Linked DNA regions of Homo sapiens: all the other regions are linked to region 3. The links are contacts of gene promoters, found by promoter capture Hi-C in blood cells and fetal thymus (Javierre and others, 2016). All regions are on one chromosome and are shown on one strand. The core of a region is centred on a gene start or on the middle of the fragment in contact, and the rest is flanking DNA. Distances in the headings are between cores, read along the strand shown.

Region 1 (3,822 bases), core at 422-2,921, 2.7 Mb after region 3:
CTCTTTACGTGTATTCTCTCTTAATTCTGAGGATGGTACCTCGAGGTCAGGACAGTTATTGTCACCCCTGTTTTTCAGATGAGAAAACTGAGTCTCAGAGAATTTCAGTATCTTGGACCAGTTTTACAGGTAGCAATGGCAGTGCTGGGATTTGAAACCAGGGACTCTTAGCATCTAACCTTCCTGGTAGGCTGCCCAAGGTCGGTATCTGCAATTCGCTTTGTATGATTTATGGAACACCATCCAGAAAAGAGTTAAGGTTTGCTTTTTCCCATCTAGCATTTAAAATTCTTTTTTTTTTTTTTTTTTATTGAGGTGGAGTCTTGCTCTGTCACCCAGGCTGGAGTGCAGTGGTGCGATCTCAGCTCACTGCAAGCTGCACCTCCTGGGTTCAAGCGATAGTCCTGTCTCAGCCTCCTGAGTAGCTGGGATTACAGATGCCTGCCACCAAGCCTGTCTAATTTTTCTATTTTTAGTAGAGAGGGGGTTTCACCATGTTGACCAGGCTAGTCTTGAATTCCTGACCTCAGGTGATCCGCCCACCTCAGCCTCCCAAAGTGCTGTGATTATAGGCATGAACCATCACTCCTGGCCTAAGATGTTTAAATATGGCTGGGCACAGTGGCTCATGCCTGTAATCCCAGCACTTTGGGAGGCCAAGGCAGGTGGATCACCTGAGGTCAGGAGTTCGAGACCAGCCTGGCCAACATGGCAAAACCTCATCTCTACCAAAAAAAAAAATACAAAAATTAGCCAGCCGTGGTAATCCCAGCTACTTGGGAGGCTGAAGCAGGAGAATAGCTTGAACCCAGGAGCTGGAGGATTGCAGTGAGCCGAGGTCGCATTGCTGCACTCCAGCTTGGGCGATAGAGTGAGACTATGTCTCAAAATAAATAATAAATAAAATGTTTAAATATGGTATATGTTGATTATATTGCATATAATACGGCAGGTACCAGGCAGGCACCAGGGAACTCTCAGGTGGGTCTAACAGATCTCTGGATCATTTTGATTCTTTCTCCCGTGGGTATTGTGGCTAATCCCCATTTCATTCAGCAGTATTTATTAAGCATCTAATCGATTCTAGGTAGCAAAGATGACACAGAACAATGTCCTTGAGCTGCCAGTACAGAGAAGGGCACAATACGCAGTGACCTGAGGAGTGAACAGTGCTGTCCAGCAGTAGAAGAAAGGCTACCGTGCTGCAGCAAAGGCACAGAGGGCAGAAGAACGTTCATTCTAGGAGACAAGACAAAATTATGTTATTTACTGCATGCCATATGCCCTGTGTGTCGCATGGGGCACCACATTGTAGGTGCTCAGATTTCAGTGTACTTACTGCATTCATTTTCTGAGCATGTACTGTGGACAAGGCCATCCACATACCCGACAAATGTAAAATCCAGAGTGGGGTGTAGCTATGAAAGGAGAGATTGGGGAGGTGAGGGTGTGGGGCTGAGCAGGGAGAATGAGAGGAAGGGAGGGGGAGAGCTAAAGCCGAGAGAGGGAGGAAGAGGGGCTGGGGGTGGGACAAAGCTGGAAAGGGAACCGATTGAACACAGCTTGGATGTGAAAGCCTCCTTGAAGGCTTTTGAGCAGGAGCGCTCACAATTTGGCACTGGGTTGGTAGGTGTGGGAAGAAAGGGTTCAGGGGCCTGACCATAACCTGGCCTGCAGTGGTGACGCAAGACTGGGAAGGAAAACCCCAATGCAAGGTCCCAGGAAGGATGATGCAGTGGAACTTGGTGGCTAAACCATATGCTAAAAATGTGTATATGAATGACTGGCTATTTATGGGCACCCATGTTTTTGCTATAAATAAACGTACATATGTAATTTCAAGAGACCGAGAATTATCAACTGCAAAGCCCAAGTGTAGCAGTCTACTCACGGCCCCTGTACTTTGCTACTGGAGGGCCTGTCCTCTGCAAACCCAAGGTCTTTTTTTTTTTGGAGAAGGATGAGGTGGTCCTGTGGGTGAGAGAAGGCTTTTGATAATGAAGGGAGGAGCAGGCAGGGCCAGGTCATTAGAGGGAGGCAGCCAGCAGTGGGTGAGAGGGTACTGGGTCCAGCTGCCTCCGGTGACAGCAGGCTCTAGTGCATCACAGTACAAACGGGATGGAGACCCCCTGCATAGGCCCCCATGCTTCCTACAGAATTTTCTTTTTCTTAGTTCTTAAAAAAAACAGTGGTTAGTGTGGAAGATAAGAAAAATCTTCTGGCCAGGCGCGGTGGCTCACATCTGTAATCCCAACACTTTGGGAGGCCGAGGCAGGTGGATTACTGGAGATTAGGAGTTCAGGACCAGCCTGGCCAACATGGTGAAACCCCGTCTCTACTAAAAATAGAAAAAATTAGCCGGCATGGTGGCATGTACCTATAATCCCAGCTACTTGGGAGGCTGAGGCAGGAGAATTGCTTGAACCCAGGAGGTGGAGGTTGCAGTGAGCCGACATCACACCATTGCTGCACTCCAGCCTGGGCAAAAAGAACGAAACTTTGTCTCAAAAAACAAAAAAAGAAAAATCCGCTACCGCAATGTTCTCAAAGTGTGGTCTGGGTGTCCCTGAGATTCTCTTGGTGGAGAGTCCACAAGGTCAAAACTATTTTTGTGGTAATACTAAAACATTATTTGCCCTTTTCACTCATTCTCTCCAGAGTGCATAACTCAGTGAACCGATGTTTTCCAAATGGCCGATGCCTGATGTTACAGAATCACACATGGGTAAACAATCCATTCAAAGTGCAGGACAGGCTGTCAGATGGGAATGCCACTGAGTACAAAAGTTCATTGATACGGGCTGGGATACGGGCTCCTGAGTAGCTGGGATTACAGGTGCCCGCCACCACCATGTTGGCCAGGCTGGTCTGGAACTCCTGACCTCAGGTGATCCACCTACCTTGGCCTCCCAAAGTAGTACTAGGATTACAAGCATGAGCCACTGCGCCCGGCCCCTTTGGTTTTTTTTAGATAGCTGTGTGGAACTCCACTCTGTGCGTGTACCCAGGTTTATCTCACCAGGCCTCTTATTCGTGAACATTGTAGTTGTTCGCAGCCCCTCCTTTTGTAACCATGCTGCGGTGTGTAACCATTTTGTAACCATGTGCAGGCATGATGGAAGGGAAATTTTTAGGAGTGGAAATGCTGGGGCAGAGGGCACATGCATTTGTCATTTTGTAAGATGTTTCCCAATTGTTGTCTGAAGAGATTGTGCCAACTATGCTCCCCTTGCTCTCATCTCTGTCAGCGGGTAAAGAAAGAGTTGTGTCTTGGGCTTTGGGAATTGAGAGGCATTCTCATTCTGATTCAGCATCAGCGTTGACAGCCTAGAGAAGAACAGAGCTTCTGGAGAACAGGGAGAAAGAAATTCACTACCAGTAAGTGGCCAGTGCTTGGCATTTGTTCTTTTTTTGTTCTGTTCTGCATGTTTGTGTTCCTCCAAGACTGTCACTCCTGGTGGTTCATTGAAAGTGATATCTAGGCCAGAGTGCTTTTAATGGCTCCATCTGTGGGACCAGACAGGAAGAGAGACAGCCTCCCTCCAGGTCCTCAGACTGCATCTGTTTGCAAAGGGCCAGGCCAGTCCTGCCATAGAGGGGGAATCCTCCTCAGGAGGCCACGTTTGCTTTGGAGGGAGCCAATCTCGCTGCCCCTCTTTGTTTCTGTCTCTGGCTTGCTCTGGATAAGTGGAAGGAAACGAGTTACTTCACCAGATGGGTGAACCTGAGTGCTGAGTTCTTTGTCCCCTCTGTGGTGACAGCAGTGGAGTCCACTTTATTGGCATTACTCCCGTCTGGTGCAGCAGCTGGGCTTGCAGATGA
Region 2 (3,779 bases), core at 1,139-3,638, 2.9 Mb after region 3:
GAAAGATCAGGTTAAATATTACACAAATGCCACTCCTCCCTCAAATATAATCATAGACTCTAACCCTTTTCAGCATGAAAACAGACTCTAGAAGGTTAAAGCTAGAGAATGATTAGAGACAAGGAAACTGAGCCCTAGAGAGGCTGTCAAAAAGCTATTCAGGAAAGACAGAACTTGATCCCACTCCCAACCTGTAGTTTAAAAACCAGAGGTTTCACCACAAAACAATTTAAGAAATCTGCTTGCTTCTTTTTTCTTTTCTTCCACTGGTGCACAAGTATTTATTAGGCAGGGGCTCACATGCTATTGCCAGTGGGATATTAACTCTTTTTTACAGCCCATGAAAAAAAATTAAGAGTAGGCTTTTTTTTTTTTTTTTTCAAGACAGAGTGTTACTCTGTCGCCCAGGCTGGAGTGCAGTGGTGCGATCTCGGCTCACTGCAACCTCCCGGGTCAAGCAATTTCTGGCTAACTCTTGTATTTTTTTTTTTTTTTTTAGTGGAGACAAGGTTTCCCCATGTTAGCCAGGCTGGTCACGAACTCCTGACCTCAAGTGATCCGCCTGCCTCAGCCTCCCAAAGTGGCAGAATTACAGGCATGAGCCGCTGTGCCCGGCTGAGATTTTACATTTTTTTAATGGCTGGAAACATAATTCAAAACAATAATATTTCACGACACATGACCATCACATGAAATTCAAATTTCAGTGTCCATAATAAAGTTGTATTGAAGCACAGTGACACTCCTTTGTTTACATACTAGCTACAGACACTTTCATACTCACAGCAAAGCTTACTAGTTTTAAGAGACCATATGTCCCACAAAGCATTTACAAAATCTGTCCTTTACAAAATGTTTGCCGACCTCTGCTCTCTTTCCCCATCCAGTGAAAACCTATATGAATATAGTATGTGAAGAGTTAAATGGGAAAAATTAAAGTGTGTGTCTGTTTTATCCTTTCAACTCACAGCAAATAAGGCAAGTTTGTCAGAGCACCACGGAGAAGAGTTAAGTAGTCAGATTTCACATCATTATAAGAATGCTGTGAACACAAAAACTTCCTGAATTTAGGCCTGCAAATCCTCAAGAACTGAAAATCCCACTGACATATGCTTTCCCCAACTCTACACGGTGGAAGCAAACACAAAGCATAAGGCATTGATATCTCGCAGCTAGAGATAAATTACATGGTTCTCAGGCTTCTTATAGCAACTTTACCAATCAGAGCCCAGGTTTCTTGAGTCAAGGAGGAATCGCCCTGTTGTGTAAGTCCCAGATTAGAAATCAAACCTCAAACTCTTCCAGCTGCCTTTGGCCTCAAGCTAGTCATGTGACTCTCCAAGGGTCTATTCTTTTATCTGTAAATTGAGGTATGCTGACCAACCAGAGGAATATTCACTCTCTCAACTCTTAAAACTAGAGAAAAAAGGAGAAGAGGAAAGGGACTGAGAGAGGAGACCTTTTCTTTTCTTTAAGTCATGTTTTGTTTTCTTCTTTATAGTAGACAAGATACCATTAGAATAGAGATATCCCTCATCAGAAAGCAAAGGGTCTAGAGCCAAGTACCAGCCTGGATTCAATGACTCTAATCACTACAATATTAAAATGGAGTACTAAGAAACAGAGGTATTTGAATTCAAGGATGTGAGTTTTTTCCTTCCCTTTCTAAGGGGCTTCTGGAAACAAAGACACACGTACCCATGCAGGGTGTGTTCTCTTTTCTTCTCACAGGGGTAAAAGCAACATTTGTCTGAATAATGCCTGCTTTACAAGTAGCCACCCAGGCATTAGTCATGAATATTATGTGTAATAAGGGCGGGTTAGAACAGTCAGCACCTTCATACCACAGTACTCCAATACAACAAGGTTTGTTCATCACTGTTCATACTCTTGAAACAATCTGGGATAGTCTGTTCCATTTACCTACCGTGAAATTTCAAAAAAACATACCACTTAGTCCTCTGAAGAGTAAAAACAGTGCAATGTCAAGTGTAGCCCAAGGAACATGGACTTTCAAAGGGGCAGCATGAGTAAGTTCACTAACTTGATTTTCAGCTTTCTAATTTTTTTTTTTTGACCACCATGGAATCTAAAGCATAGGGCACTGTTTCTCTCAACAAGTTTGTTTTAAAAGTTAATAGCTGGCTGGGTGCACAGGCTCACGCCTGTACTTCCAGCACTTTGGGAGGCCAAGGCGGGTGGATCACTTGAAATAAGAAGTTTGAGACCAGCCTGGCCAATATGGCAAAACCCCATCTCTACTAAAAACACAAAAAAGTAGCCGGGCGTGGTGACGAGTCCCTGTAATCCCAGCTACTCGGGAGGCTGAGACAAGAGAATCGCTTCAACCCAGGAGGTGGAGGTTGCAATGAGCCAAGATCCTGCCATTGTACTCCAGCCTGGGTGACAGTAAGACTTCATCTCAAAAAAATAAAAAATAAAATAAAATAAAAGTTAATAGCTTTAAACAAAGAAAAATAATCTCAAGACCTTGAAGAAAAATATTTTTGAAGCCAAATAAATGGAAATTACCATATGACCCAGCAACTCCACTAGGTATATAAAAACATGTCCACATAATTTTGTACACAAATGTACATAACAGCATTATTCACAGTAGCCAAAAAGTGGAAACAATCCAAATCCACAAAAAAATGTGGTATATCTATACAACGGAACAGTATTTGACAATAAAAAGAAATAAAATACTGATCAATGCCACAACATGGATGAAACTTGAAAATATTACGCTAAGTGAAAGAAGCCAGAGACAAAAGATCACATATTGTGTTATACCATTTACATGAAGTTCTGGAATGGGCAGTTTACGTACTATCTACAGCCACTTTCACACTCTCACAGCAAATCTCTCTATGGATTTACAGAAAGCAAAAGTAGATTAATGAGCTGGGGGAGGGAAGAGTGAAGGAAAGGCACACTGCTAATGGGTCTGGGGTTTCTTCTTAGAGTGATAATGTTCTGAAATTAGAGCCTTAGTGGCGATGGTTGCAGAACTCTGTAAATCTATTTAAAACCAATGACCTATGCACTTTATTTGATTGGGTGGATTTTATGGTATGTGAATCATATCCCAAAACAAACTATTCTTAAAACAAAAAAAAAATGTTGATTGAACCTTTTATTCTCTTATTTTTTTTTTTTTGAGAAGGTGTCGTGCTCTGTCGCCCAGGCTACAGTGCTATGGCACAATCTTGGCTCACTGCATCCTCCGCCTCCCAGGTTCAAATGATTCTCATGCCTCAGCCTTCCAAGTAGCTGGGATTACAGGCACCTGCCACCACGCCCGGCTAATTTTTTTGTATTTTTAGTAAAAACAGGGTTTCACCATGTTGGTCGGGCTGATCTTGAACTTCCGACCTCAGGTAATCCACCCACCTCAGCCTCCCAAAGTGCTGGGATTACATGTGTGAGCCACCGCGTCTGGCCTATTGAACCTGTTTTTTCATTGCTGAAAACGATATACTTCATAATTTAGACAGTTACTATTGAGCTATAAAGTAAAAATCTCATTTTGGCTATCAGTTTTTATATAAAGAAAGAAGAGTCAGGTTTAAGAAGGGTTTATAGGCCGAGTGCCATGACTCACATCTGTAATCCCAGCACTTTGGGAGGCTGAGGCAGGTGGATCACTTGAGGCCAGTTCGAAAACAGCCTGGCCAACATGGCAAAACCCCATCTCCACAAAAAGTACAAAAATTAGTCAGTCATGGTGGCGCATGCCTGTAATTTCAGCTACTCACAGCTGAAATTAGGCAGGA
Region 3 (3,775 bases), core at 435-2,934:
CATGGTCTTGCCTGATTTCCTCAGGAATGAGACACTTATTCTTTTTTTTTTTTTTTTTCTTTGAGACAGAGTCTCAATCTGTCACCCAGGCTGGAGTACAGTGGCGTGATCTTGGCTCACTGCAACCTCCGCTCCCTGGGTTCATGCGATTCTTCTACTTCAGCCTCCTGAGTGGCTGGGATTACAGGTGCCAGACATCACGCCTGGCTAGTTTTTGTGCTTTTAGTGGAGACGGGGTTTCGCCATGTTGGCCAGGCTGGTCTCGATCTCCTGACCTCAAGTAATTCGCCCACCTTGGCCGCCTAAAGTGCTGGGATTAAAGGCATGAGCTACTGCACCCGGCCAGGAGTTAGACACTTATGATTTCATACTTCCAACCAATGCTTACCTCCATTATATTATTGAGCAGATTATGGTTAAAATGTTTGCATGTTTGTCTTCCCTCAAAGACTGTGAACTACTTGTGGGGAGGAATGATCTTTTGTATCTGTATTCACGGCACCTAGCATGGTGTCTCACTCATAGTAGATTCTTGGTAAATGTTTGTTAAATGGATGTGAAGTTAAGTGGATGTGTATACAGCATACAGAGGTGGTGGCACTGGTGGGAAGCAAGATGCCAGTTCCTAGGGCTGAGCACAAAACCCACCCTGGACCATCCGTAAGACGTGCAGGAACATCTGTTCCATCGCTAGCGCCCTCTACCTCCCCATTTTGTTTTGGAGGCAGGGAAGGTTATTGGTCTGAAAAGATCTCCATCTCAGAAGAAAAGAACGCTGATACATGTTATGGATATCTCACATTCACTCATTGATTTAACGAATGTTCACTGAACATTTACTCTGTACCACGGCTCATCTGATTCTCACAACCTCTCTCAGCATTATCCGCATTTTTAGATGAGAAGGCTGAGGCTCAGATTTATTTGCATAAGGTCCCACGGATAGCAAGTGACATAGCTGAAAATTCACTGGTTCTGACTCTGGAGGGTGTCGGGCAAGAGTCAGGGGTTGCGGGTCTCCAGAGGGCTGGTCCAAGTGGGGCTCACCTGAACTTGGTGTGGCTGGGAGCCGCGTTCTGTTCAACTTTCTGCTTGGCCGCAGCGTCTTGGAGCTGTCGAGCGCCTGTGCAGATGGTCCCGGCCGGCGTTCTGGCCACGACCCTGCTGGGAAGAAAAGCTCGGTGAGGGCCACGGCCTAACGGTCACTGGGGCCCGGGTGGCTCAAGGGACACGAGTAGGAGCATAGTCCTGGAGGTGGCGGTGGGCTCGAGGGGGCAGTCATTTGTTACCCGGCTGTCTGGGGCCAAGTCCAGGACCGCAGGAACCGCGACCCCGCGTTTCTCACAGCCTGCATGACTTGAATTGACCCCAGTCAGTTTCCGTCTGCAGCGACAGTCACAGCTGCGCCGGCGCCGGTACCATGAGTGCCTGTCGGGGAGGGGACAGAAGGGAAAGTCATCTACTCTTCATTAGGTCCACTGAATATTTTTATTTCCATTTAAATGCTCAATAAGACTTTCACTGTAGTTCACCAGGGGATTCTTTCCCTTTTTTAATGTTCTGAGATGGTGGGTCACCCCCTCCATATGCGAATGGTTCGTTCTAGCAGTTCCGGGACTGAGCTTTCCCCTAGTTTGCCGCTCCCGCGGCTGAGGGATCCCTGGGAGCCGCGGTGCATTGTGGGAGAACGAAAGATGGCGGCGCCCGTAAGGCGGACGCTGTTAGGGGTGGCGGGGGGTTGGCGGCGGTTCGAGAGGCTCTGGGCCGGCAGTCTAAGCTCTCGCAGCCTGGCTCTTGCAGCCGCACCCTCAAGCAACGGATCCCCATGGCGCTTGTTGGGCGCGTTGTGCCTGCAGCGGCCACCTGTAGTCTCCAAGCCGTTGACCCCATTGCAGGAAGAGATGGCGTCTCTACTGCAGCAGGTGGGACTGAGATGCAGGGTTCAGAGTGACGTTTATTCTGCGTGACTTTGAGCGAGTAATTTCACCTCTCTGAACTTAAGTATACGGTACTTATCCGCAGAATGGTACCTACCTTACTGACTTGGTTTGGTACATAGATGTTCAACAAAAAGTGGTTTCTTTTCATTGGCCGTGTTTATTGTCACCTTAGACAACTCTTTGGAGATACTCTACTTCTTGTTCATGCAACACAATAGGGATCCTGTGGTGAACAAGAATCGGTCCGTGTCACTAGGAGCTTACAAGTCTGGAGGGAGAAAGTCTTTGTGATGTGATGAATGTTAAGAAGGAAATACAAGAGGCGGTGGGCACATCTGTCAGATGCCTATGATAAGCCTACTCTGTTTTATCTCATGGGGCTATCTGTGTGAGGGGCAAGTGAGGAAGCATGGGCAAAAACAGTGTAGTGGCTGTGAAGGTGTGAGGTCGCTACAGAAAGTGTTTGAAGGGTGATATGTTTCCTCAGAATCCGAGATGTTTTTGTCTTGGTCTGTTGAGAACTATAAACTTCTCTTCTGTGCTTTTTGCTTGATTTATTCATTTACTCGCTCGCTTGACAAATATTTGTTACTCAACCTACAGATGTTCATTGTGCCCATACTATGCATCAGAGAGTATGTTAAGTGATAGAGATGCTGTAATGAATAAGGCAGAAGTAGCTCTGGTTCTCAGAGTACTTCAGTCTAGTTGAGTGAGGGGATCAGTCAGTAACCAAATAATCATACAACTAAATGCAGACCCTGATAAGTGTTGTTAAGGAAAACACAAGGCACTATAAGAGTGTTTAACAAATACATCACATTTTGATTTTATGGTGAGTGTCAAGGAATGCCTCAGACTTTCTGAATACAGGTTTTTCTCTTTATGAGAAATGTCTCTCTGAGACAGTCATATTTAAATTGAAATCAGAAAGATGAGTAGGACTCTCCCAGAAGAAAGAATGTGAGGAAAAACATTCTAGGAAGAAGGAACAACCTCTTGAAAGTCCCTGAACAGGAAAGTCCTTGGTGAGTGAGATTCTGATCAAAGACTGACATGACTGGATTGTGGTGAGTCAGCAGGCATTGCCCAACCCAGCTCTCTGTTTTTGTAGCACTCTTGACCCCCAGTGACATTGTAACATTTTTGGCAAATGTAACTCAAGCCCAAAGTTCAGAGGACCTTTTTTTCCCTCCATTTCCTTTCTGCATGGTGTTTTGACTGTGTATCTGGTTATGTTGGGTGATAAACTTCTGAGCTTGCCAAGTGTGCCATGTCTCTGTTTTATTCTTCCTGTTTTTTTTTTCCTTTTAATTTTGCCAGATTAAGGTAGTTTTTTGCCCTTTGAATTTTCCCAGATTGAGATAGAGAGAAGCCTGTATTCAGACCACGAGCTTCGTGCTCTGGATGAAAACCAGCGACTGGCAAAGAAGAAAGCTGACCTTCATGATGAAGAAGATGAACAGGATATATTGCTGGCGCAAGATTTGGAAGATATGTGGGAGCAGAAATTTCTACAGTTCAAACTTGGAGCTCGCATAACAGGTTGTGATCCTTTTAGGCCAGCCAGAAGGAAGGGAAAAGGGGTATTTGGATTCCCAAATAAAAGACAGTTGCTTGGCCCCTGCTTTGTGTTTTAAGTAACAAATAATTTCATATTCTTTTCTTTGTTGCTCACATCTACCATAATACGACTTAAAAAGTCTGTCTTATTTTCGGGTGAGAGGTAAGGGTATTGGAATAGCCTTTTCTCTCAGTTAAACTTTGTGAATGTTATCTGTGTTTAACTCCAAGTTTGAGACTGAGAGTGGGGCAAATGAAGCCTTTTTCCACTA
Region 4 (3,406 bases), core at 507-3,006, 2.8 Mb after region 3:
TGATGGGGAGGGAAGGAAACCAGAAAGGAGACTGCTAGAATCCCAGACCTCAAAGGCCTATTCCATGCCTTTTGTAACACTTCCTTTAACACCCACTTGGTTCACAGGTCTCCTCCTTAATACCACTGGCACAGTGTATTGAGACTCTCTTAGGTTTTTCTCTATCCCCTCTCTGGGGCAGGGACCATTCACCCACTGCTGAATCTTCAAATTAAGACTCTCCAGCATAGTGCCTAGCTCATGCATCCTATTCAAATGCTCCTCTCTCGGCCCTACTATGCCTATTTAAACTAAAATTAGATGAATGCGCTGACACAGCCTTGATTACAGTATGTCAAACATCAATTTAGTAACACAAAAGGACAAACAGCTGTCAAACTAAATTTGACGTAGGTCCTGGCTCTGCATGTATGTATGTACTAGTATGACCCTAGTCCCTTCTTGACAGGCCTCCGTTTCCTCATCTATAAAATTAAAAAGGAGGAATCACATTTTCCCCCAGGTTCCCTCTGCTGTGATTCTATCAGATGGGTAAGTGAGTTTCAGGCTGCTGGACCCACAGCAAGAAGCATAACAAAGTGGTCGAGGCAAACGGCTTTATTTATTTTCTAGTAAGCCAAAACATGTTTCTGCCCATCCTCACGAGCACTATTCTTACTCAGGGTGTATGGTGCACCTCCCCTCCTCTGCCACAGAGATGCCCAGGACTTGCAGCTGGCATGCTCCTTTCTGGTTTCTTCCTCTCCCATTAGTTGATCCATCATATCCTTCCCATGCACAGACTTGAAAGCCCACCCCACTCAAACCCTTTCTCTTCACAAATCCCCACTCAGCTAAAGTCTTTCAAATACATCATCTTTAAGTCCATTTCTCTTTCCCTTCTACAGAAAAAGTATAAAAAGACTATGAAAAGGCAAAGTCAATGATTAGTAGATCTATGTTTTTCAGCGTGCTGAATCCTCAATATATAATGCTGAAGAGAATAAAGCAAATTACAAAAAGAGGTACTGTATGGTAGTATTTATGTAGGTTAAAAACAAAAACAAATTATATGTTGTTTATGTATGAAAATAAATTATAAAACACAGACTACGAATGCACTGAATTCATGACAGTCCTTGTCCTTGGGGAGGAAGGAAGATGCATGGGGCAGGGAAACAAAGGGGAATCTGAACTTAACCATAATGGTTTCTTAAAAAGTGAAACAATCTGAAGCCGTCTGACAGAATGTTACTATGTGTTCATTCTGAATCATGGACACATATGTGATAAATTACCTATGTATAATACTTTGTATTAACATTTTTCAAAATTAAAAAAAATTTTTAATTTTTAAAAAATCATCACACTCTAATGTCGTTCAAAGTTCCTTGGATTTGCTTATAAACATTTCCATATCCTTTTGCATAATCCATTTATCGCATCTTGTGATAACTTAAAGATAAGATTTTATTGTCTTATAATCCAGTTAAAAAAGTATATTTTTTTTCTTTTGTTTTATTGAAAATCTATAATATTTTAGGCACCTAAGGGCAACACAGGAGGTGGCAGATTTGCTGGAGAACCAGCTACTAATTCTGATCTGCAAAAGTGACCAAGAACACTATGGGCAGAATTTGTTTCCAAGTTCTGTTCTTTCTGTTCCTTTCTTCCCAACCAGTTCCAACACCCTACAGAGATTTAAGCAATGATGATTTTTAAGGGAGTGGCACTATCACGTAAAAAGGTTTCAGCAATATTCAAACTCTCAGGCCAGTGTTTGAGTGTCTGAGATGAACATAGAAGCAGAAAAAAATCATTTAAAATGTGCTTCTAGTAAAGAACTTTTCACATAAATTCACTTTTAATTAATTGAAACATGTCCCCAAACCCACAACCCAGCTGGAAGTTTAACACGCTCTATATTATGGTCATGAGTTTTCTCTTAGTGATAGTTTGCATGGACATCTCCTTAACATGCTGAAGTACCTACTTGAAAAACACTCAACTTGTTTCCAAGTTGTCCTGGACTCAATTCACAGTGACAGTTTTAGAGCTGTGCGTGGGTGATTTAGAAACTTCAGCCCCACTGACATCAGCCAAAGTCATGAGACTAAAATCTTACTCTCTGTTTGGGAAAACAGAAAATTACCAAGAACACAAGAATTGAAGACAAATCTAATACATTTTTAAGCTCTCTGCCACAAACCATACCATGTTGTTATGAAGATCAGAAAATAATTATCTGGCCTTTTATTTATTTATTTGATAGATTTCCTAATAGCAGTAGGCAATATGCTTTCATTTTTTAAAATTCTTCAAAAAGGTCTCAGCACAGTGGTTTATGGGAACAGAGCTGATCCCTAATCGGATTCCTCTGTACCTAAAACAAACAGTCCAGCCTTCAACTTCTTTCTTTGCTACAAGGAGGCATCAAACCAAAGAAAATGAAGTTAAACCCACATGACTGGAAACTATCATCTATCTATTGCTGTATCTTTTTTTTAACCCATGCCACCAACCACCACAGATCTTTGGCGAATGGTTATATACTATGTGTTTTTTATCTTTCGGAAGAAAAATAAAACAAACCATTAGCGAGGCTAACTTAAGAAAATCAACTTTATACAATGATAAGAGGAGTGGCCATGCCAAACTGAAATGAAATGACAGAATATCAAAGGACTGCCTACACAGAAACGAGCCACCTTTGGGAGCTGAGTCATATGCAGCCAAGGCTCTGACAAAAAAGGTCTTCCAGTACTTCAGTTCATTGATCATCACTTGGGAATAGGCTGAAGACTTCTGACTGTTCTGCCTACAGATGTGAGCAGCAAAATCTAACTGGGAAAAATGACCTGATTCTTCTCCAGGACACAAGTTGAGGAATTACCTTTAAGGATAGAAATGCACAACTTTCTCCTATCATTTCAACTCTAACCAAGAAAATGAAAATAAAACAAAAAACAGTTAAATATGAGCAAATTTAGAAATGCATGCTACAAAATTCTTTCTGCAACTTTAAACTTCTTGTTTAAAATCTTTAACAGAGACCCTGTCTCTCAAAAAAAAATTATTAAATATATGTGTGTGTATATATATATATATATATTTTTTTTTTTTGAGATGGAGTCTTGCTCTGTCACCCAAGCTGGAGTGCAGTGGTACGATCTTGGCTCACTGCAACCTCTGCCTCCTGGGTTCAGGTGATTCTGCTGTCTCAGCCTCCTGAGTAGCTGGGATTACCGGTCCATGCCACTACGCCTGACTAATTTTTTGTATTTTTAGTGGAGATGGTATTTCGCCATGTTGGCCAGGCTGGTCTCAAACTCCTAACCTCAGGTGATCCACCCGCCTCAGCCTTCCAAAGTGCTGGGATCACAGGCGTGAGCCACGGCACCTGGCCAATAAATAAAATCTTTGGGGG
Region 5 (3,654 bases), core at 1,050-3,549, 2.8 Mb after region 3:
CACGAGGTCAGGAGTTCAAGACCAGCCTCGCCAACATGGTGAAACCCCGTCTCTACTAAAAAATACAAAAATTAGCCAGGTGTGGTGGCACGCGCCTGTAGTCCCAGCTACCCGGGAAGCTGAGGCAGGAAAATCGCTTGAACCCGGGAGGTGGAGGGTGCAGTGAGCCGAGATTGTTTGTGCCAGTGCACTCCAGCCTGGGTGACACAGTGGGACTCTGTCTCAAAACAAACAAACAAACAAAAGAGCAGCTGGGCATTCAAATAAACAATCCGTTATATAGAAAAGGCATCCATTTATACTACTTTGCTTAGGTGTTCTAAAATATTTTAGACATTTCCCACAGAACAGCAGTGATTGCCTCTAGGGCCTCTGTGAGAGGGCAGGTGGCAGGCAGAAGCAGCACCACAAGGGGTCCTGTCAACAGTCAGTTTATTTATATATGCATTGTTTACAAAATACAGCAGTCTGTTTTTAAGATAAGGGGGAAATGGTATGAAAACCACTGCTGTAGAAAGGAGAAAGAATAAGCTATAAAAGCAGTGCAAAGAGAAGCATTCATTGCAAGGGTTCTAAATCAGAATCATAACTGATGCCTCTGTGAAAAAGAAGGCAACTCAGAAAAAACTGCAGGGCAGCCATAGGAACCCCAATTAAACTTCAAGTAGAATATTCTATCTCATAAGCATGAAAACCTAAATAAAAATAATGAGTCAGAACAGAAATCTTTTGCTTGCTGTCAAGTAAAGAATCAATTTCACGCCTGTAATCCCAGCACTTTGGGAAGCTGAGGCAGATGGATCACCTGAGGTCGGGAGTTTGAGACCTGCCTGACCAACATGGAGAAACCCCATCCCTACTAAAAATACAAAATTAGCTGGGCATGGTGGCGCATGCCTGTCATCCCAGCCACTCAGGAGGCTGAGGCAGGAGAATGGCTTGAACCTGGGAGGCAGAGGTTGCAGTGAGCCAAGATCGCGCCATTGCACTCCAGCCTGGGCAACAAGAGCGAAACTCTGTCTCAAAAGAAAAAAAAAAGAATCAATTCGTTTACTTCGACAGAGCTATGTATCATTTACATGTATACAGAAGAAAACAGCTTTAAAGCTTAAAATAGCTAAGACTATTATAAATTGCACACACACACAGACACTAATATGAAACAAAATGTTGTTTAGACTGTTAGATTTAGGAATTAAAAATCCCATAAGCAAAGGGTGCACAAGTTCATAAAGTCAAATAATAGTGTACCCTCACATCAATAAATACAACCAATTTTTATCATGAGGACAGTATAATTAATAAAACTACTGAAGACATTAACTTTAAGGTATAGCCTTCATGACAAAACCACTTTTAATCATTATTCCAAGTTTATCACTCAAAGAAGAACCCAATAAGCTCAATTAACTTAGTTTACGTAATTAAATGGCCTAAGAGATTTTAAATTTTCTTCATTTTATTTCTGGAAAAAGGAGTAACAAATTTATAGTACCTCTCAGTCAGATTAGCACTGGTATTGTGGAAGGTACTGTGGAAGGGCCGTGAATCTAGAAAACAAGGCAGAAAAAAAGTTAGAACCAAAAAATTTAACACTGATGCCGGGTAGAATATTTATAAATTCACAATGACACAGCTAAAGCAAAAACAGCGTGTGAAAGTCAGCACATGGTACCTCCTCCTTCTAAAGGTTTGAAAGAAGGAAAAATTAAACTTGAAACCCTCAAATTAGAACCAGAAGTAGGTAGTGAATTTCTCATGAAGAAAATAAGTTTAATCCAGGATTCAAGTAACTAAAAAGACTCCAAATAACTTTTTCTAATGCTTAAACACATATGAAGCATGTTTAATTCCAGTTCTTATCAATCTTCAGTTTGCACAAACCATCCTTCTGAGATGACATCATAGGAAGAATATAGAATAGGAAATTAAATGTCATATTTTATCCGTTAATACTGCTTTTATATGTTTCTATAAGATCTAGCTCATCTCTAATATTTTCATGAGAATTGCTAGAAATAGATTAGCAAACAGGAAAGAGCATCAGAGCTGGCTTATCAAGTCTTCGCCCTGTCACTAATTTGGGATGAGACCTTTGGATTTCATTTCCTCATCTGTGAAATGAGGGAGATAAAACAGATGGCAAAGTCCTTTCCAGGCTAATAGAGATAAAAATGAATGAGGCAGATGCGTACTTCTTCCTTCCACAACCACTGGACCATAAACTGCCGCAGGTCATTAAAATTCTAAGACTATGTCAGATAGGGCAATATGAAGAAAAAATAGAAGGAATATTATTATTTTTATCTACCACATGTTAATAAAGATTGAGTTACTGAAGACTTAGATGAGAGCAAGACCTCAGTCACAGTGATAAATGATTTTCAATTTTCAGGACATCAGTTATAGAACTATTTCCATGTATATTCCAGGGAAACAAAGGTTACTCTGTAACACTATTTTAACGATTTAGACAAAACACCTTCCTTTTTCCTTGAGGTTGGTTTCAAGGATCTCTGAGATTACTGTAAGCAAAACTTTAATCTGATAGAGATTTGAAGATGTTCTACTACCAGACTACCAGCATTTGGGCCAGGCGCGGTGGCTCATGCCTGTAATCCCAACACTTTGGGAGGCAGAGGCAGGCAGATCACTTGAGGTCAGGAGTTTAAGACCAGGCTGACCAACATGGTGAAACCCCTTCTCTACTAAAAATACACAAATTGGCCAGGCGTGGTGGCGCATGCCTGTAGTCCCAGCTACTCGGGAGGCTGAGGCAGGAGAATTGCTTGAACCCAGGAGGTCGAGGTTGCAGTGAGCCGAGATTGCGCCACTGCACTCCAGCCTGGGTAACAGAGCGAGATTCCATCTCAAAAACAAAAACAAACAAAAAAACTCCCAGATTACCCGCATTTGAAACTCTTCAACTCTCAAACTGTTCCAGATTCTGAACAGAAATCCAAAACTGTAGTTATTATTTTTATCTATTATTGTTACAAATTTTTTTTAGAAACAGGGACTCGCCATGTTGCCCAGGCTGGTCTTGAACCCCTGGGCTCAGGCAATCCTCCTGTCTCCGCTTCCCAAAGTGCTGGGATTACAGGGGTGAGCCATTGCACCTGGCTAAATTTAAATTGCCAACAGGTAGGAATAATACATAAGAAACCTTAAAACAAATTCTAAGTCTTCAAAAGATTGCCTTCCGTATTTTTTTCCTTTTTCCCAGTTTAGGGTTCTTCTTCTGTTCATTTCACTTACAACACATGGTAACAACAGCCAGGTAAGAGGGAAAGATTAGCAGCATAAGAATATCTGGGATCCATCCCCAGGTTCTGCATAATCTAGGTGTAAAATATCAGCATTTTAATCTTATGATGCATTAGTGTACTTAAAAAAAAAATCAAGAGGATAGTTTAAATCAGTGGTTTTAAAACCTTTTCTGCCCAAGGAAACTTCAGTGATAGGAGCAGCATTAAATTTTCTAAGCTTGCCTGGATTCTACTATACATTTAAGCAATTACCTAGTAAGTTACCACCCTAGTAATATGAACTAAATAAAAATAAAATTCATAATGCAGAAAAATACCAACCAACACAAAGCAGGGCCAATCATAAGCTTCCAGCAGATATGTGTGGAATAAATTAAAGACTGAA
Region 6 (3,875 bases), core at 845-3,344, 2.7 Mb after region 3:
TGTGATCTCACCTTCAGGCGCCCCTCAGACAGCGGGCAGCCCGAGAAGGTCATGCCGTGGCGCAGCCTGCGTGCAGGGTGGCTCTGCTGTGAACAGGAACCCGGAGGTGCCCCAGCACGGTGGCTCTCAGCAGTGGCTTCCGTGGTGCTCAGTGGTGTGCTGGCCCACAAAATCCAAATAGCGCCTTCACAGTGTAAGAAGTGCTTCTGATGCTGGCGTAGGGGCATGACGCCAGATTCCTTAGAAAATGGAATGATCTTGAGCGGGTGTGTCTCAGAGGTGAGTATGGTGCGTGTAGAAGAGCCAAGAGCACAGAGGGCCTCGTCCCTCCCCCTGCCCAGAGGTGCAGCCCTGGGAGGGGCATCCTGGGACTCTGCCTCGCACTGTCTGCTCCTGTAGCAGTGGTGGGGACCACAGGTGAACGCTACCACTTCCACACAGGCCTGAGCGCTTCACTCTGGGCATCCAAAGCCAGGAGTTGGCTCCAGCTAGAGTCCAGACAGCAGCAGAGGTGAAGTTCCCTGTCACACAGTCACAGGGTGAGTGTGAGCCAGCTGTGGCCCACAGGGCTCCAACTCTCTCCCCCTCTCTCCCTCTCTCTCCAACTCCCACCCCCTCTCTCCCTGCCCTGCCGTCTTCCATGCAAGGCAGCGGTTTCCTGGTCCACCCTGGCCTTCGCAGCCCCGGCCATCCCATCTGCATTCCAGCCAGTGGAAAGGGGAGGAGAGAAAGTGATGGGCAAGCCTGTTTTAAGGGCATGTCCCAGAAGTTGCACCATAACTTCTCCATTTTCCCAACAGCTAGAACTCAGTCACATCCACGCCTGACTGCGAGCGGGACTGGAAAGTGCCCCGAGGAAACTCCAGGACTCCAACGCCAAGTAAAGGGAGCGTAGATATTAGACAGGTAGCAGCCTCTTCCTCTACATGCTGGGTCAGGGGTTGGAAGGAACCTGGGCACACCGCCCTGCCTCCCGCTTCTCTGGGAGCATGCAGAGCCGTCATCTGCCAAGATCCTGGCTCTTGTCAAACCCTTCTTGTCAAGCAGTTGTCAAGCCCACTGGCCAGTGCTTTGCATAACTACCTCCTTTAACCCTCACAGTGACCCCCGGAGGTAGACATTCTTGTCCTCTTCTTGCTGATGAAGAAATGGGTCCACAGGTCACAGTAACTTGCCCAATGTCTCATGCTGGAAAGAGGAGGAGGAGGAGGAGGAAAAAACACGGTTGCAACTGACAGAATGTGGATTTGGAGCTAGGCCCACCTGAGTTTGGGTTCAAGCTCTCACGTGTGGCTCTCATGTATGTGCAAGCTTGGTTAAACCACTTGATTCTCTGATACAGACTTAATGATAGTAGGGTTAAAAGTTGAGGTCAAATTCTATAAAGCACTAAACACCAGGACCAATGCCCAGATAGCCCTTTACAGGGGGAGAATGGCCGCCACATTACAGCAGTGGAACTGGGATTTGAAACCAAGCCATATGCTACATTGTGGGGGCTGGGGGCTGGGAGCAGTGTTGCTTCCAGTCATTGCCCAGCAGGCCTAGCTCCATGTTCCTTGGCCTCCCAGGGGTCAGACTGAGTCTGGGATGGGGCTTGGGGAAGGGAGAAGGCGCCTTCCCCATCAGTGATGGGGCAAGGTCTCCCTGGAAACCTCGGTCCCAAGATGGCCAGTGGAGCTTTCCTGGGTTGTGCCTGATGCAGGAAAGAAAACGGGCCATCTTGGAGGCTTTGGCATCCTGAGAGCCTGCCTGGGGGGACTGTCAAGTTGCCAAGGGCAAGGAGAGGGTAGCCAACTGCCTCCTCCACCTGGCTGCTCAGCCAGGTCTCCCTGCCTTCAAAGGACATTTCTTTGGTCAGGAATTGACAAGAATGAGCCCAGAGTCATCCACCCCAAGGGTGTGTGGCAACCATCCCTTGCTCAACACCGAAGGCTGTAGAATCATAGTGGGGAAAGAAGCAACTTCTTCAGAAGCAGTTGTCTAATGAGCACAGCTTGGAAAGAGCCTTGGTTCTTCTGGATCATCACTGGGGGGATATTTCGCAGAGCAAGAAACTTGCATGCCCCGTCCATCATGTCCCAGCCCCGGCCCCAGGCCCAGCCCCGATGGATCTGCCCGGCCTCTCTCCTTCAGGAGGTGGGAATGGTCTCTTCCAACTTGAAGAGGCCATGAAGGTGATCGGCCCCCCAGCTGCTCTTCTTCCCTCAGGCCCAACCCTACCTGACCTGCAGCTTGGCCCGCCCATGGCACCTGCAGAGGTTCAGGCCCTGCCCAGGGAGCCAGGGTGATTTGGGTGAATTTCCCAGAACGGGCACAGTATTGTCCTGCATCTTCCCTTGCCTTGTTGGGCTTTGGGATGTGGCTCTGCCTCATTAAAGGTCAAGGAAAAGCCTAGAATAGGCCGGAGGCTTCTTAACTTGGGATTTGGGATCAAATTCAGGGGGTCCATGCACTTGGGTGGGAGAAGAATGACACCTTTGTTTTCACTAACCTCTGACTGAGGTTAGTGATCAAGTGATCCGCCCACCTCGGCCTCCCAAAGTGCTGGGATTACAGGTGAGAGCCACCTTGCCTAGCCCCAGTCACTGTTGAGGTCACCATTTTAAAGCTGAGGAAACATGCTCAGCATGGCAGCAGAAGCTCTGGCAGTTTCTGTGTGTCTGGCCCCAGCTGCCCAGGCCCCCTGAACCTGAGGGGCCTTGCTCTGGCCCTGGGGTTGGCCTGGGTTTGGCACCTGGCGCTCGGGCCCCTGAGGGCTTGCAGTAGGGGAGCAGTGGCTTTTTTGAGTTGAATTTAGTAGGGCTGGACTCCTTTCCTGTCCTTTCTGCAGGTAAAGGAGATGAGCAGCGTTGCTCTGGTACGCAGAGAAGCTTCCAGACACTCCTGGGTTGCACGATAGATTAAGTAATTCTACTGATGGGCACCAGCTCCATGCCAGGACCCAGGGCTCCAAAGCCATTTCCAGGTAGACTCATCACAGCTTCTCCACTCAGCTTGCAGGGATGGTGGGGAACCAGGGAGGATGGGAGCAAGAGACACATCCTGCCAAGCCCACCCTGTGGTGGCTCTACCAGCGTCGGGACCGCAGAGGGAACAGGATGGCACAGTCTCATCCTGACACGTGCATGCAGGATAAATGCAGGCTCTGAGAGCGAGTGCCACGGATGACTCCTCCATGGCCGCACTTTCTTCACATTGGCTCCTGTGAGCTTCCTCAACGCTTTCGAAGCTGGCCCCGCTTCTGTCCACTCTGCAGAGTGAACGTTGAGGTACTCTGTGTCTCTCATCTGTACAACCCTAACTAGGGCTTCATCCAAGACTGTCGAGGAGCAGGTCCTGTCTCTCCCTCTCTCCATCTCCCCACTTCCCATGGAAAATAGTGAGATTTTTAAAATGGGAGTTGAGGCCATACCGAAAAGCCAGCACTGTTAAATGCAGCTGTGACATTTGCCTGAGAGAGGTGGCCGGGGTGTGGGGGGGCGGGGTTTCAGCTCCCAGTCTGCCCTCCAAGCTGGTGTTGCCAGCTGTGGCTGCCTTTCCTGTAGGCCTGCGAGGTCCCTGCCATGCCTGTCTCCTCCTCCCAGCAGTAGTGTGAGCTCTGCTCCGGGATCAAGGCCAGATCTTTGCAGCCCATGTGCTTGGCTCCCTCAGCTGAGCCTCAGGACGTGGGTCCTCAGTTTGTGCTGTGCAGCGTGAGGGGCCACACTGCAGTCAAGCCAGCTGGGTGCAAACAGCAGCTTTTCTTCTACTTGGTGGCCCTCCTTGGGAAGGTCCCTCTGCTCCTGTAACTTCATTTCCTCATTGATAACAAAGAAAAAAACAGATCATATTGCCTGTTGTAAGGATTGAACTAAATCGGGTAAAGAGGCTAC
Region 7 (3,418 bases), core at 335-2,834, 2.6 Mb after region 3:
GACCCGGGACGAGGGCCCACCTCTCTGCCTGCCTCCTTTAAGGGACGCCTCCTGCTCCACAAGTTTCTGTCCTCCCTCTGAGGGAGCCCTGGAATGTGCTCCATCTACACTACTAGGGCCACGTGGACTATCCTAGGAGTTGGGAGGGCAGGGTGCAGCTGGGGAGGGAATGCTCGCAGAGAATGGGGTTGGGGTGGCTTTGGCAAAGAATGCACTTGGGGTCTGTAAAGAGGTCAGAGAAGAGCAGGGCCACCTTTGCTCATATCAGATGCTGCTTGGCCACCCACACCTGACCCTAGCTCTAAAAGCCAGTGTGTGGAGGGTCTGATTCTGTAAACTGGATGAAAGAGCAGGGAGGATTGAATGAAGAAGATACAGGAGGAGCACAGGCTACCTGGGCAGGGGGCATTTCACTGAGGTATTCTTTCAGCAAGCTTTAATTGAACAAACACAGTGGAATCTCAATGGTCTTTATGGAGTGAGTGCAGGAAAGAAAGAATGAATGAATGAATGAATGAAGATAAGATAAGATCCCTGCACTCTCAGAACTCACCTTCTAGATAAGAAGACAATTCAAATACAAAAATACCAGTAACACAGAATGGTATATGAGAGGTACCATAAAATTTTATGGAAACGAACAGAAGAGAAAAATCACTTCTAGCAACACTGCAGGGCCATCCTACCCCTTATGAGTGTTGATGCAAATTAGAAGGAGCTTACCTGAACAGACCCAGCCTCCTGGGCCCAGCGGCCTGCAAACAAAGAGCAAATGCTTTTATGCCACTCTGCTCCTCAGCCAGGCATCCTGGTGCAGGACTCAGCCTGCTTCTCTGTGAGTGGCAGCCAGGGCTTCATGGAGGAGATGACATTGGAGTTTGCTGGAAGAACAGAGAAGACAGAGAGGACTTAGACCAGTGGGGAGGTGGGGAAGGTGGCAAGGGAGCAGATTAGAGGAGAGAAGAGGATATTCCAGGCAGAAGGATGGGTGCACCAGGATCCTGGAAGCAGGGGATAAAGAGATCTTACAGGAGTGTTAAGATTCTGCTGGGGCTGTCCCCTGGAAGGCCATAGGGGCACTTATCTTTGTAGTGGGTGTCCTCAGGTCACATGCTCAGGCCAGCCAAGCAGGGCAGCCCAGTGACTAGAGAGCATAGGCCTGGGAACTCTTATGAGTTGAATTTTGTCCCCCCAAAATTTATACGTTGGAACCCTAACCCCCAGTGTCTCTGAATATGACTGTACTTGGAGTTAGGGTCTTTAAGGAGGTAATAAGTTCGAATGAGGTCACAGAGCAGGGCCCTAATCCAACAGAACTGCTGTTCCTAAGAAAAGGAAGGCACACCAGGATGTGTCAGCACAGAGAAAAGACCGTGTAAGGACCCCATGAGTAGGCAGCCATCTGCAAGCCAAGGAGAGAGGCCCCAGAAGAAGCCAGACCTGCCAAAACCTTGATCTTGGAACTCCAGCCTCCAGAACTGTGTGAAAATAAGCTTCCATTATTGAAGCCCCCAGTCGGTGTTGGCAGCCTGAGCAAACGAACACAGGAGTCAACATCAGGCTCCTAACTTCCTCACTGTGTGTCCTGAATGAGTCATGTAGCCTAGCTCAGTTTGTTTTCTGATCTGATATGGAAAGCAAAGGTAGAAACGCCCAGGGTGGCAATGAAGCTTAAGTGAAATTGCACTTGTAAAATAGGCAGCTGGCAAGTACGCAGATGTTGACAGAATAGTCTGGTTTCTAAAATGAGATGCAGGCCGGGCACGGTGGCTCATGCCTGGAATCCTAGCACTTTGGGAGGCCAAGGTGGGCAGATCACCTGAGGTCAGGAGTTCAAGGCCAGCCAGGCCAACATGGTGAAACCCCATCTCTACTAAAAATACAAAAAAAATTAGCTGGGTGTGGTGGTGCCTGCCTGTAATCCCAGCTACTCTCAAAAATAATAGTAATAATAAAAAATAAATAAAATGAGATACAGGCACCCTGTGGGGGTGAGGAGGGGAGAAAATTCACTGGAGTGGAGGAAGAAAAGATAAGAACTTATTTCTTTTTCTTTTTCTTTTTTTTTTTTGAAACAGAGCCTCACTCTGTTACCCAGGCTGGAGTGCAGTGGCGCGGTCTCTGCTCACTGCAACCCCTGCCTCCCAGGTTCAAGCAATTCTCCTGCCTCAGCCTCCCAAGTAGCTGGGACAACAGGCACCTGCCATCACGCCCAGCTAATTTTTGTATTTCCAGAACAGACGGGGTTTCACCATATTGGCCACGCTGGTCCCAAACTCCTTACCTTGTAATCCACCTTCCTCGGCCTCCCAAAGTGCTAGGATTACAGGCGTGAGCCACCGCACCTGGCCAATAACTTATTTTTTATAGTTAGTTCTTTTTTTCTTGAGACGGAGTTTCACTCTCGTTGCCCAAGCTGGAGTGCATTGTTGTGATCTCGGCTCACAGCAACCTCCGCCTCCAGGTTCAAGCAATTCTCCTGCCTCAGCCTCCTGAGTAGCTGGGATTACAGACACGTGCCACCACGCCTGGCTAAGTTTTTTAGTTTTTTTGTAGAAACACGGTTTCACCATGTTAGCCAGGCTGGTCTTGAACTCCTGACCTCAGGTAATCTGCCCGCCTTGGCCTCCCAAAGTGCTGGGATCACAGGCGTGAGCCACCGTGCCCAGCCAATATAGTTATTAGTTATTTCTTTTCTTTCTTTTTTTTTTTTGAGACAGAGTCTCACTCTGCTGCCCAGGCTGGAGTGCAGTGGCGTGATCTCAGCTGACTGCAACCTCTGCCTCCCGGGTTCAAGCAGTTCTTGTGCCTCTGCCTCAGCCTCCCGAGTAGCTGGGACTACAGGTGTGCACCACCACGCCCGGCTAATTTTTGTAATTTCAGTAAAGACAGAGTGTCACCATATTGGCCAGGCTGGTCTCGAACTCCTGACCTAGTGATCAGCCCACCTCTGCCTCCCAAAGTGCTGGGATTACAGATGTGAGCCACTGCATCCAGTGCAATATAGTTATTTCTTAAATTTATTTTTATAGTTATTCTTATGTCCCCATTTTACATTTCTCTTTTTATATATGGCTTTAATGAGCATAATACATTAATGTTTATAATTTATGAAAAAGTATCATCCTTGTAATTTCTACTTTGTGCATGGTTTTAAGGTACACCCTATATAAATCCAGTGCTAACTGTATAAACTATATGACTAAACAGATTTGCATGTAGTAGGGATGCATGATTTTTTTTTTTTTTTTTTTTTTAGAGAGAGTCTGGCTCTGTCACCCAGGCTGGAATGCAATGATGCGATCTCGACTAACTGCAACCTCCACCTCCAGGCTCAAGCGATTCTCCTGCCTCAGCCTCCTAAGTAGCTGAGATTACAGGCATGCGCCACCACACCTGACTAATTTTTGTATTTTTA

Evidence for each region. The method cuts DNA at HindIII sites, captures the fragments that hold promoters and counts their contacts. A CHiCAGO score of 5 or more calls a contact.
Region 1: a fragment that was not itself captured here is called in contact with the fragment with the promoter of MRPL46 in region 3 in 1 of 17 cell types (endothelial precursors); the score reaches 6.0 in endothelial precursors.
Region 2: a contact is called between a fragment that was not itself captured here and the fragment with the promoter of MRPL46 in region 3, in 1 of 17 cell types (erythroblasts). The highest score is 5.5, in erythroblasts.
Region 4: a contact is called between a fragment that was not itself captured here and the fragment with the promoter of MRPL46 in region 3, in 4 of 17 cell types (M1 macrophages, M2 macrophages, erythroblasts and 1 more). The highest score is 7.3, in M1 macrophages.
Region 5: a contact is called between a fragment that was not itself captured here and the fragment with the promoter of MRPL46 in region 3, in 1 of 17 cell types (M1 macrophages). The highest score is 6.3, in M1 macrophages.
Region 6: a contact is called between a fragment that was not itself captured here and the fragment with the promoter of MRPL46 in region 3, in 6 of 17 cell types (M2 macrophages, M1 macrophages, M0 macrophages and 3 more). The highest score is 18.2, in M2 macrophages.
Region 7: a fragment that was not itself captured here is called in contact with the fragment with the promoter of MRPL46 in region 3 in 16 of 17 cell types (M0 macrophages, M1 macrophages, endothelial precursors and 13 more); the score reaches 22.8 in M0 macrophages.

What each region holds. Positions count from the first base shown.
Region 1 is chr15:85,780,182-85,784,003 of GRCh38, reverse strand. All of the region lies in intron 1 of KLHL25 (kelch like family member 25), which reads left to right. Among named protein-coding and RNA genes, the nearest start is that of MIR1276, 12 kb to the right of the region's middle. The HindIII fragment of the contact is 7,893 bases long and covers 1-3,822 here.
Region 2 is chr15:85,586,312-85,590,090 of GRCh38, reverse strand. The region is part of intron 8 of AKAP13 (A-kinase anchoring protein 13); the gene reads right to left. Among named protein-coding and RNA genes, the nearest start is that of LINC02883, 170 kb to the left of the region's middle. The HindIII fragment of the contact is 3,190 bases long and covers 794-3,779 here.
Region 3 is chr15:88,465,297-88,469,071 of GRCh38, reverse strand. MRPL46 (mitochondrial ribosomal protein L46) reads left to right here and starts at 1,684. Exons shown (of 4, transcript NM_022163.4): 1 at 1,684-1,922; 2 at 3,299-3,485. The coding sequence starts at 1,695. MRPS11 (mitochondrial ribosomal protein S11) reads right to left here and starts at 1,364. Exons shown (of 6, transcript NM_022839.5): 1 at 1,290-1,364; 2 at 1,048-1,164. The coding sequence starts at 1,354. RefSeq lists enhancers at 1,514-1,683, 2,150-3,349. The HindIII fragment of the contact is 6,788 bases long and covers 1-3,775 here.
Region 4 is chr15:85,703,539-85,706,944 of GRCh38, reverse strand. All of the region lies in intron 17 of AKAP13 (A-kinase anchoring protein 13), which reads right to left. Among named protein-coding and RNA genes, the nearest start is that of LINC02883, 53 kb to the left of the region's middle. RefSeq lists a silencer at 1,964-2,093. The HindIII fragment of the contact is 4,594 bases long and covers 1-3,406 here.
Region 5 is chr15:85,680,054-85,683,707 of GRCh38, reverse strand. AKAP13 (A-kinase anchoring protein 13) reads right to left here. Exons shown (of 37, transcript NM_007200.5): 15 at 1,496-1,550. Among named protein-coding and RNA genes, the nearest start is that of LINC02883, 77 kb to the left of the region's middle. The HindIII fragment of the contact is 2,379 bases long and covers 1,110-3,488 here.
Region 6 is chr15:85,754,915-85,758,789 of GRCh38, reverse strand. LINC02883 (long intergenic non-protein coding RNA 2883) reads left to right here and starts at 65. Exons shown (of 6, transcript NR_120366.1): 1 at 65-279; 2 at 442-539; 3 at 801-906; 4 at 2,834-2,968; 5 at 3,135-3,272; 6 at 3,549-3,849. The HindIII fragment of the contact is 1,562 bases long and covers 1,314-2,875 here.
Region 7 is chr15:85,835,436-85,838,853 of GRCh38, reverse strand. LOC105370952 (a long non-coding RNA gene) reads right to left here and starts at 1,563. Exons shown (of 3, transcript XR_932580.2): 1 at 1,441-1,563; 2 at 724-881. The HindIII fragment of the contact is 177 bases long and covers 1,496-1,672 here.